Regions from separate parts of the Homo sapiens genome. Here region 2 is linked to region 1. The links are contacts of gene promoters, found by promoter capture Hi-C in human tissues and cell types (Jung and others, 2019). All regions are on one chromosome and are shown on one strand. The core of a region is centred on a gene start or on the middle of the fragment in contact, and the rest is flanking DNA. Distances in the headings are between cores, read along the strand shown.

Region 1 (3,341 bases), core at 14-2,513:
GCAAACCAGCCCAGAGCCCCCCATGGGTGCCGCTTTGCGGCCCACCCACCCCCACAGCCCACCTCGCACCTCCAAGGAGCCTTCTTTGCCTCTCACTGCACACCGACCCCCCATTTCCTCACCCCCACCCCAGGGGCACAGCAAGAAGGGTGCTGGTGCCAGCCCCCCCGCACTCCATCCGAGAGACACGGGCTCCTCGTCCCTCGTCGTCCGTAGGCCCTGAGCTCCAGGGCAAGCCAGAGCTGAGGCCTTCAGGGGGTCCTGCCAGTGCAGCCTCCGGGAGTCTGCCCAGGGATCCCCTGTGCCGGGGTCTTCCAGGTTCAGCTCAAAAAGCACCTCTTCCACGACTCCCTCCCCGACCTCCCTCCCGGGTCCCCTCTCCCCGTGCTCAGAGGCGCGTCTGAGCGTCGGGAGCTCGGGACGGCGAGCAGCCAGCAGAGCCGGGACCCGGGAGGGCGCACCCCGACCCCATTCCCGGGAAAGAGCGGAAAGAACGCGGACAGGAGCCCGGGGCGGGGAGCTGCCGGCGGGGGCTGTAATTGCGCAGCTGAGGCCAGGGCGGCGCCCCTAGGGGCTGGGCCGCGTCCAGAATGGGACCCCCGAACTCAGCGCCGAGAGCCCCGGACACCCCGCGGGCAGAGGCCGAGGCGGAGGAACCCACTACTCGGCGCGGCCAGGAGGGGCGGCAGGAAGACCCGCCCCGGCCCCCGCCCGCCCTCTCCCCGAGCCCCCGCGCCGGACCCCACTTGTTGCTGCGTGTCGGCTCTGGGCTCGAACTCGCGCGCCCCGCTCGCGTCCGGCTCCAGCCGCTCCCGGTCGGACACCTCCGGCCACGGGACCCTGGCCGCACGCCCCCACAACCCCCAGGCGCAGTACCTGCGCCGCCGCCTCCCGCTCGCGCCGCCCGCTCCCGCCGCGCAGCTGTCAGTCAAGCGGACACGAGAAACGCGAACCGCCGCCGCAGCTTTACGGCCCTGCTCAGACGCCGTAGCGCCGGGATGCACCAAGACGGTGGGCGGGGGTGTGCGGTCTGCTGCTGCCGCGGCCGCGCGGGCCCGGGAGCCCCGGGACGCACAGGCCCAGGAGCCCCGGGACGCACGGGAAGCCCCTATCGCGGCGGAAACTGCGGCCAGCGGTGGCGGGGCCGGTGGAGGGACGGCCGGAACAGCGGAGAACGAGCGGAGCCGATTCTCCCGCAACAGTGGACGCGCCCGGGGCGGGGCCTGGGGGGGTTCTTCGCGTGCGGCCGGGCCGGGCCGGGCAGTCTGGGACGCGCCGCCGCCATGATCATCCCTGTACGCTGCTTCACTTGTGGCAAGATCGTCGGCAACAAGTGGGAGGCTTACCTGGGGCTGCTGCAGGCCGAGTACACCGAGGGGTGAGGCGCGGGCCGGGGCTAGGGGCTGAGTCCGCCGTGGGGCGCGGGCCGGGGCTGGGGGCTGAGTCCGCCCTGGGGTGCGCGCCGGGGCGGGAGGCGCAGCGCTGCCTGAGGCCAGCGCCCCATGAGCAGCTTCAGGCCCGGCTTCTCCAGCCCCGCTCTGTGATCTGCTTTCGGGAGAACCTTATCCCCTGAAGTCTGGGGAAGAGAACGGAGTTGGGCTTCAAACCAGTGGTGTCCTGGGGATTCTAGGTGGCCTGGCGGGTCGCAGGCGTCTTGTCACCCGCAGTAAAGCCCTTGGCCTCCGCCCTATTCCCATCTCTGCCCCCAGGCCCACCCCATGTCCTGCAAACCTCGCTGCAGGACGGGCGGGCGCGGCGGCTGACATCTGTAATCCCAGCAGTTTGGGAGGCCGAGGCGAGAGGCTTGCTTGAGCCCAGGAGGTCGAGACCAGCCTGGACAACCTGGGGAGACCCTGATCTCCAGAAATTTATTTTATTTTATTTTTCTTTTTTGAGACGGAGTCTCGCTCCGTCGCCCAGGTTGGAGTGCAGTGGCGCGATCTCGGCTCACTGCAACCCCCGCCTCCTGGGCTCCAGCAATTCTCCTGTCTCAGCCTCCCGAGTAGCTGGGACTACAGGCGTGTGCCACCACGCCCGGCTAATTTTTGTATTTTCAGTAGAGATGGGATTTCGCCATGTTGGCCAGGCTGGTCTGGAACTCCTGACCTCAGGTGATCCACCCGCCTCGACCTCCCAAAGTGCTGAGGTTACAGGCGTGAGCCACCGCGCCTGGCTCTATCTTTTTAATTCGCCGGACATGGCGGTGCACACCTGTGGTCCCAGCTACTTGGGAGGCTGAGACGAGAAAATCGCTTGAGTCTGGGAGGCAGGTGGAGGTTGCAGTGAGCCAAGATCACGCCACTGCACTCCAGCCTGGAAGAGAGAGTGAAACTCCGTCTCACGCACACACACACACAGAAAAAGAAATGCAGGGTAGACTTGCTGACCACCCTCATCAGGCTTTGTAGGGGAGGCGTCTTTCTCCTGTGCTTGTCCCTTGGTGCTGCTGTCACCACGGTGCCTGAGTCTTGGTGCCCCCGCTGGAGTCTGACCCTCGCCCACTGAGTCTTCGTCACATGTGAAGCCCTGGGCTTGTGTGCGCCAGCCTGCCATCGGCACTTGGTGCAGCTTGCTGGACAAACGAGGAAAGCGAGTGGGCTGCTAGACTGAGTGGCTGGCGGCCTGTCCAGACCCTTTCCCCGGATAGGAACGGCAGGGGCCTCCCATGTGGCCTCCCCTTTCCCAAGCTTCTGTGTCTCTGCACATTGGAGCCATCGGTGTGGGAGTTTTCTGGAGGTCTTGAGGGTGACTGGAGCTAGGTCCCAGGGAAATGAAAGCTTCTAATTGGCTTGGGAAGTGGGAGAGGTGGCTCCGTGGAGAAGCAGTCTCTCTCTGATGGAAGGAAGCAGAGGTGAGGAAAGACCCCACAGCGGCAGAGCAGGGCTTGCTCTGGCTGGGGTGGGGGTGAACCAGCTAAGGGCAGGCCCCTGGAGAGCTACCCTGCCGTGGCCAGTGCTGGATGAGGTGGCTGCACATCAGCACCTTGGTGGTCTTGGTTTTCTAAGCTCCCCGCAATTACTTCGTTTTCATTTCATTTACATTTCTTACATACGTTATACACACACACGTACAGCCAGAGTAGGTGGGAGAGGAGGCTCCTCACGCTCCACCCAGGGTTCTGGGCATTTCCAGGTTACTCCAGCCAGGATCATACTGCTAGATCTCAGCTTCTGAGCCGGGTGAATCTGTTCGCCTTGCCGGTGGCGGGGGGGGTGAGGCCAGCAGGCAGTGAGAGGCAGGTTGGATGTGGGCTCCAGGCCTTTGCAGACCGTAGAGAACTCAGTTGGCCTCTGCTCCTCCCCTCGACACAGGGATGCGCTGGATGCCCTGGGCCTGAAGCG
Region 2 (3,341 bases), core at 250-2,749, 83 kb before region 1:
AATTATGAGGGTGCCGTGGCTCACGCCAGTAACCCCAGGACTTTGGGAGGCCAAGACAGGTGGATCACTTGAGCTCAGGATTTCGAGACCAGCCTAGGCAACATGGCGAGACCCCCCCATCTCTACAAAAAACACGAAAATCAGCCAGGCATGGTGGTGGTGCACGCTTGTAGTCCCAGTGACTCCGGAGGCTGAGGTGGTAGGATCACTTGAGGTGGGAGGTTGAGTGCGCCGTGATGGAACTACTGCGCTCCAGCCTGAGAGCCAGAGCAAGACCCTGTCTCAAAAAAAAGAAAAACAAAAATCATGAAGTCAACTATTTGCTGGATAACAAGGAAAAAAATCAACGCAGCAGACAGGAAACTGGCTTTGTTTCTCCCTCAAATTAAATAAGGAGATGGCCTCTGAAAGCCAAGAGGAGGTTCTGCACACCAAAGTCAAATTAATTGGTGGACCGGTGCACCCACCCAGCCACCCTGCACATCCTTCTAACAGGCCCAGCCTTCCTGGCTTGTTTAACGGTTTGGTGTGGATTTTTCCCACCCCGAGGGGACAGGCACGGGGCTGAGAACGAGGTCTGTGATTGGAGCAGCAGGCAGCGAGGCCATCCCACACCCCGACTGCTGCTCGTGTCCAGATTCCCTCCGGGAATGAGTCATTTTAATCGTCGTAGGTGAGATCTAATCAGGGGTTAATAAGCCTCCAGAACCCAGGTCACAAAGCTGTTTCCTGGGAAGACACTGATTTCCAGATTTCTGCTCCCAAAGCTAAAATCCACGCCGTTTTGGAAAACGCTGGGTTAAACGCTCCAGTACTAGAAAGACCAAGGTGACATCATGCTGGGGAGGGGCGTCTTGGCCCGGAACCCCCTTGGTGGTGCCGCAGCCCCCCGCACGGACCAGCAAACGGGAGTGGAGATGTGGATGAAGGGCCGTGCCCTAAACCCCTAGACCCCGCACCCCTAGACCCTGGACACCCCACCCCGCACCCCCAGACCCAGGGCCCCGCTCTGCATCCTGACCCGCACCCCCATACCCGATACCCCAAGACTCTGAGCGCCGCCCGCACCCCCAGACCCTGGACCCCCACCCCGCACCCTGGCCCCCACCCCCAGACCCGGTACCCCAAGACCCCGAGCGCCGCCCGCACCCTCAGGCCCCGGGCCCCGCCCGCATCCCAGCCTGCACCCCCGCCTCGAGGCCCCGCCCCGGGCCTCCGCTCCCAGACCCCGTCTCCGCCGGCGGCCCCGGCCCCGGCCCCACGCCGCCCCCGCCACTCACAGTTGCGGATATCCGAGATGAAGACCGCCAGGCCCCGCATCCCGTCCCCCTTGGACACGGCCGGCATCTTCCGACGCTCGGGAGCGGCCTCGGCTGGCGGACCCGGGCGGAGGAGCGCGGGGAGCGGGAAGCGGGGAGTGCGGTCGCCGTCACCGCCGCGGAGGAGCCGCCGGGGAGCCGCCTAACCACGGCCGCCTCAGGGTCCCAGCGCCGCTTTCTGGGCCGCCGCGCGCGCGCACGTACGGCGCCCGCACCAGCACGCACGCGCACGCACGCGAGCGACGACGGACGGCGGCCGGGGCGGGTGTCGCGTGAGGCAGCGCGCGCGCGTCCGCGGCACGGGGGCGAGCCGGTCGAGGCAGGCGCGGGGGCGCCCCCTGCAGGCGGACACCATGGACGGAGCCGCTGAAGCCACGCGTTCGCGTCCCGGGGCCGCGCCAAGCTGGCGATGCCGCCCGCGTCCCCCACGGGAAGGGCGTGGGTCCGGGCGGGAACCCGCGTGTGCAGCGGGCCGCCTCTGTCGTTGTTGGTGGTCACTGCAAAAGAGGCGGCCACGCAGGCACACGCGTACGGCCTCGTCCTGGGCCTCGGCCCCGCTAGCTTGCCCCGAGCAGTCTCCGTTTTCTTACTTGGAATAAACGACCTGTGAGCGCTGGGCGGCGGGGCAGCTCCGAGGCCAGGGCCTTGTTTGTTCCGCGGGGGCCGGGGCGGGAGGGCGGCGCCGGGAGGAAGCTGGGGCTCCAGGCGAAGGGGTCACAGCCGCTGGACGGCCTTTGGCGAGGAAACCCTCCCCTAGCACGGTATCCTGAGACGGTGGGGCTGGCCCGCCCCTCCTGCCGCCCTGAGCCGCCAGGGCCACATCTCTTGCGGTCCCTGAGCTGGGGGCGAGGCAGGCCCCGTGCCCGACCCAGCCCAGGGTCTGTGTGGCAGCCCAGGTGCCCCCTCCACATCACCTGGGCCTGCAGAGAAACAACCACCCACCCCACCCCAGTGACAGCGGCCGGGGGCGGCAGCCCCTGCGGAATCTAGTCCCTCGGCGGCGCCAGGACTTTTGGCCACTGTTGCCAGGGCCCCCTCTGCTCCCCAGCCCTCTGCACCACTGCAAGCTGGAGGCCTAGGCCCACCCCTGTGGACACATCGCAAGGGAGGACCTGCTGGGCCAGGCTGCACAGCTCCAGGTCCCGGCCAGGAAGAGACCCCAGGGAGTGGGGAAGCAGATGGCCCTGCCTCACTGTCCTTCCCAGAGCCAGATGGCTTTGAACAGGAAGCTCCCTCCTGCTGCAGTGGGGGGATCTGGACCCTGTACCTGGAACTGGCCCAGACCCACCAGCCAGGGCTTTGTCCCCACCCTGGCTCACTTCCGCAGCCCCAGATGAGAGCTTAGCCCTGGTGGAGCCCGGCCAGGAGGAGGGCACAGGACCCATGCCCCTCCCCAATGAACCGGGTGCCGCACCCAGGCTCTGGGCCTCCAGAACTCCTGGGGAAAACCAAGATCTGTGACAGACCCCAGTCAGCATAAGGCAACCAAGTCCATCACTTCCCAAGACAGAGGCACGGAGCCGACCCAGCAGAGGGCTTCCTGGAGGACGGTACACCCCTCCGGAGTCCCTATCCTCTCCCAGTGCCACCTCCTGGCAGAGAAAGTGGTCCCGGGGCTGTTCATTCTTCAGCCTCTCCCTTCCACCAAGAAGCTTCCCTCCCCTGTCCCTGACAACAAATAAAGGCCATTCTGGACACAAGAGCATCTTGTGCCATGTGAGGGGTCCTGGGCTGCTCTCCAGGACAGTCCCAGCAGTCACGAGGACCGTCCACTAACACACGTGGGCAGAGCATGGGCTCTGGGCGTCAGGAGGCTGGCATGCCTAATCCAAGCTCCCATTGGCAGTGGCAGTGCAGAAGACCGAGACAAGCAGACCACTGTGCCCCCCCACCAGCAGCCACTCACAGAGCAGGGCAATGGGGGTGCTGCAGGGGCTGCCCACAGGAGGGCTTGGGCCTGGCAGGCATCCCCCTCCGCCCACTCGGAAGACTCCTCCTCAGTGCCAGCTCTGGGATTCCCAC

The links. Contacts are between HindIII fragments. The study calls those that stand out against the background at their distance.
Region 2: the fragment with the promoter of AP2A2 here is called in contact with the fragment with the promoter of POLR2L in region 1 in 11 of the 25 tissues and cell types used here (H1 embryonic stem cells, IMR-90 fibroblasts, adrenal gland and 8 more).

Annotation. Positions count from the first base shown.
Region 1 is chr11:840,451-843,791 of GRCh38, reverse strand. It overlaps POLR2L (RNA polymerase II, I and III subunit L), which reads left to right and starts at 1,263. Exons shown (of 2, transcript NM_021128.5): 1 at 1,263-1,378; 2 at 3,312-3,341. The coding sequence starts at 1,284. TSPAN4 (tetraspanin 4) reads right to left here and starts at 940. Exons shown (of 9, transcript NM_003271.5): 1 at 877-940. RefSeq lists silencers at 268-436, 422-651, 672-761, 872-1,501 and enhancers at 770-1,513, 1,514-2,259, 2,260-3,004. The HindIII fragment of the contact is 28,886 bases long and covers 1-3,341 here.
Region 2 is chr11:924,028-927,368 of GRCh38, reverse strand. AP2A2 (adaptor related protein complex 2 subunit alpha 2) reads right to left here and starts at 1,499. Exons shown (of 22, transcript NM_012305.4): 1 at 1,281-1,499. The coding sequence starts at 1,347. RefSeq lists a silencer at 1,148-1,687. The HindIII fragment of the contact is 16,179 bases long and covers 1-3,341 here.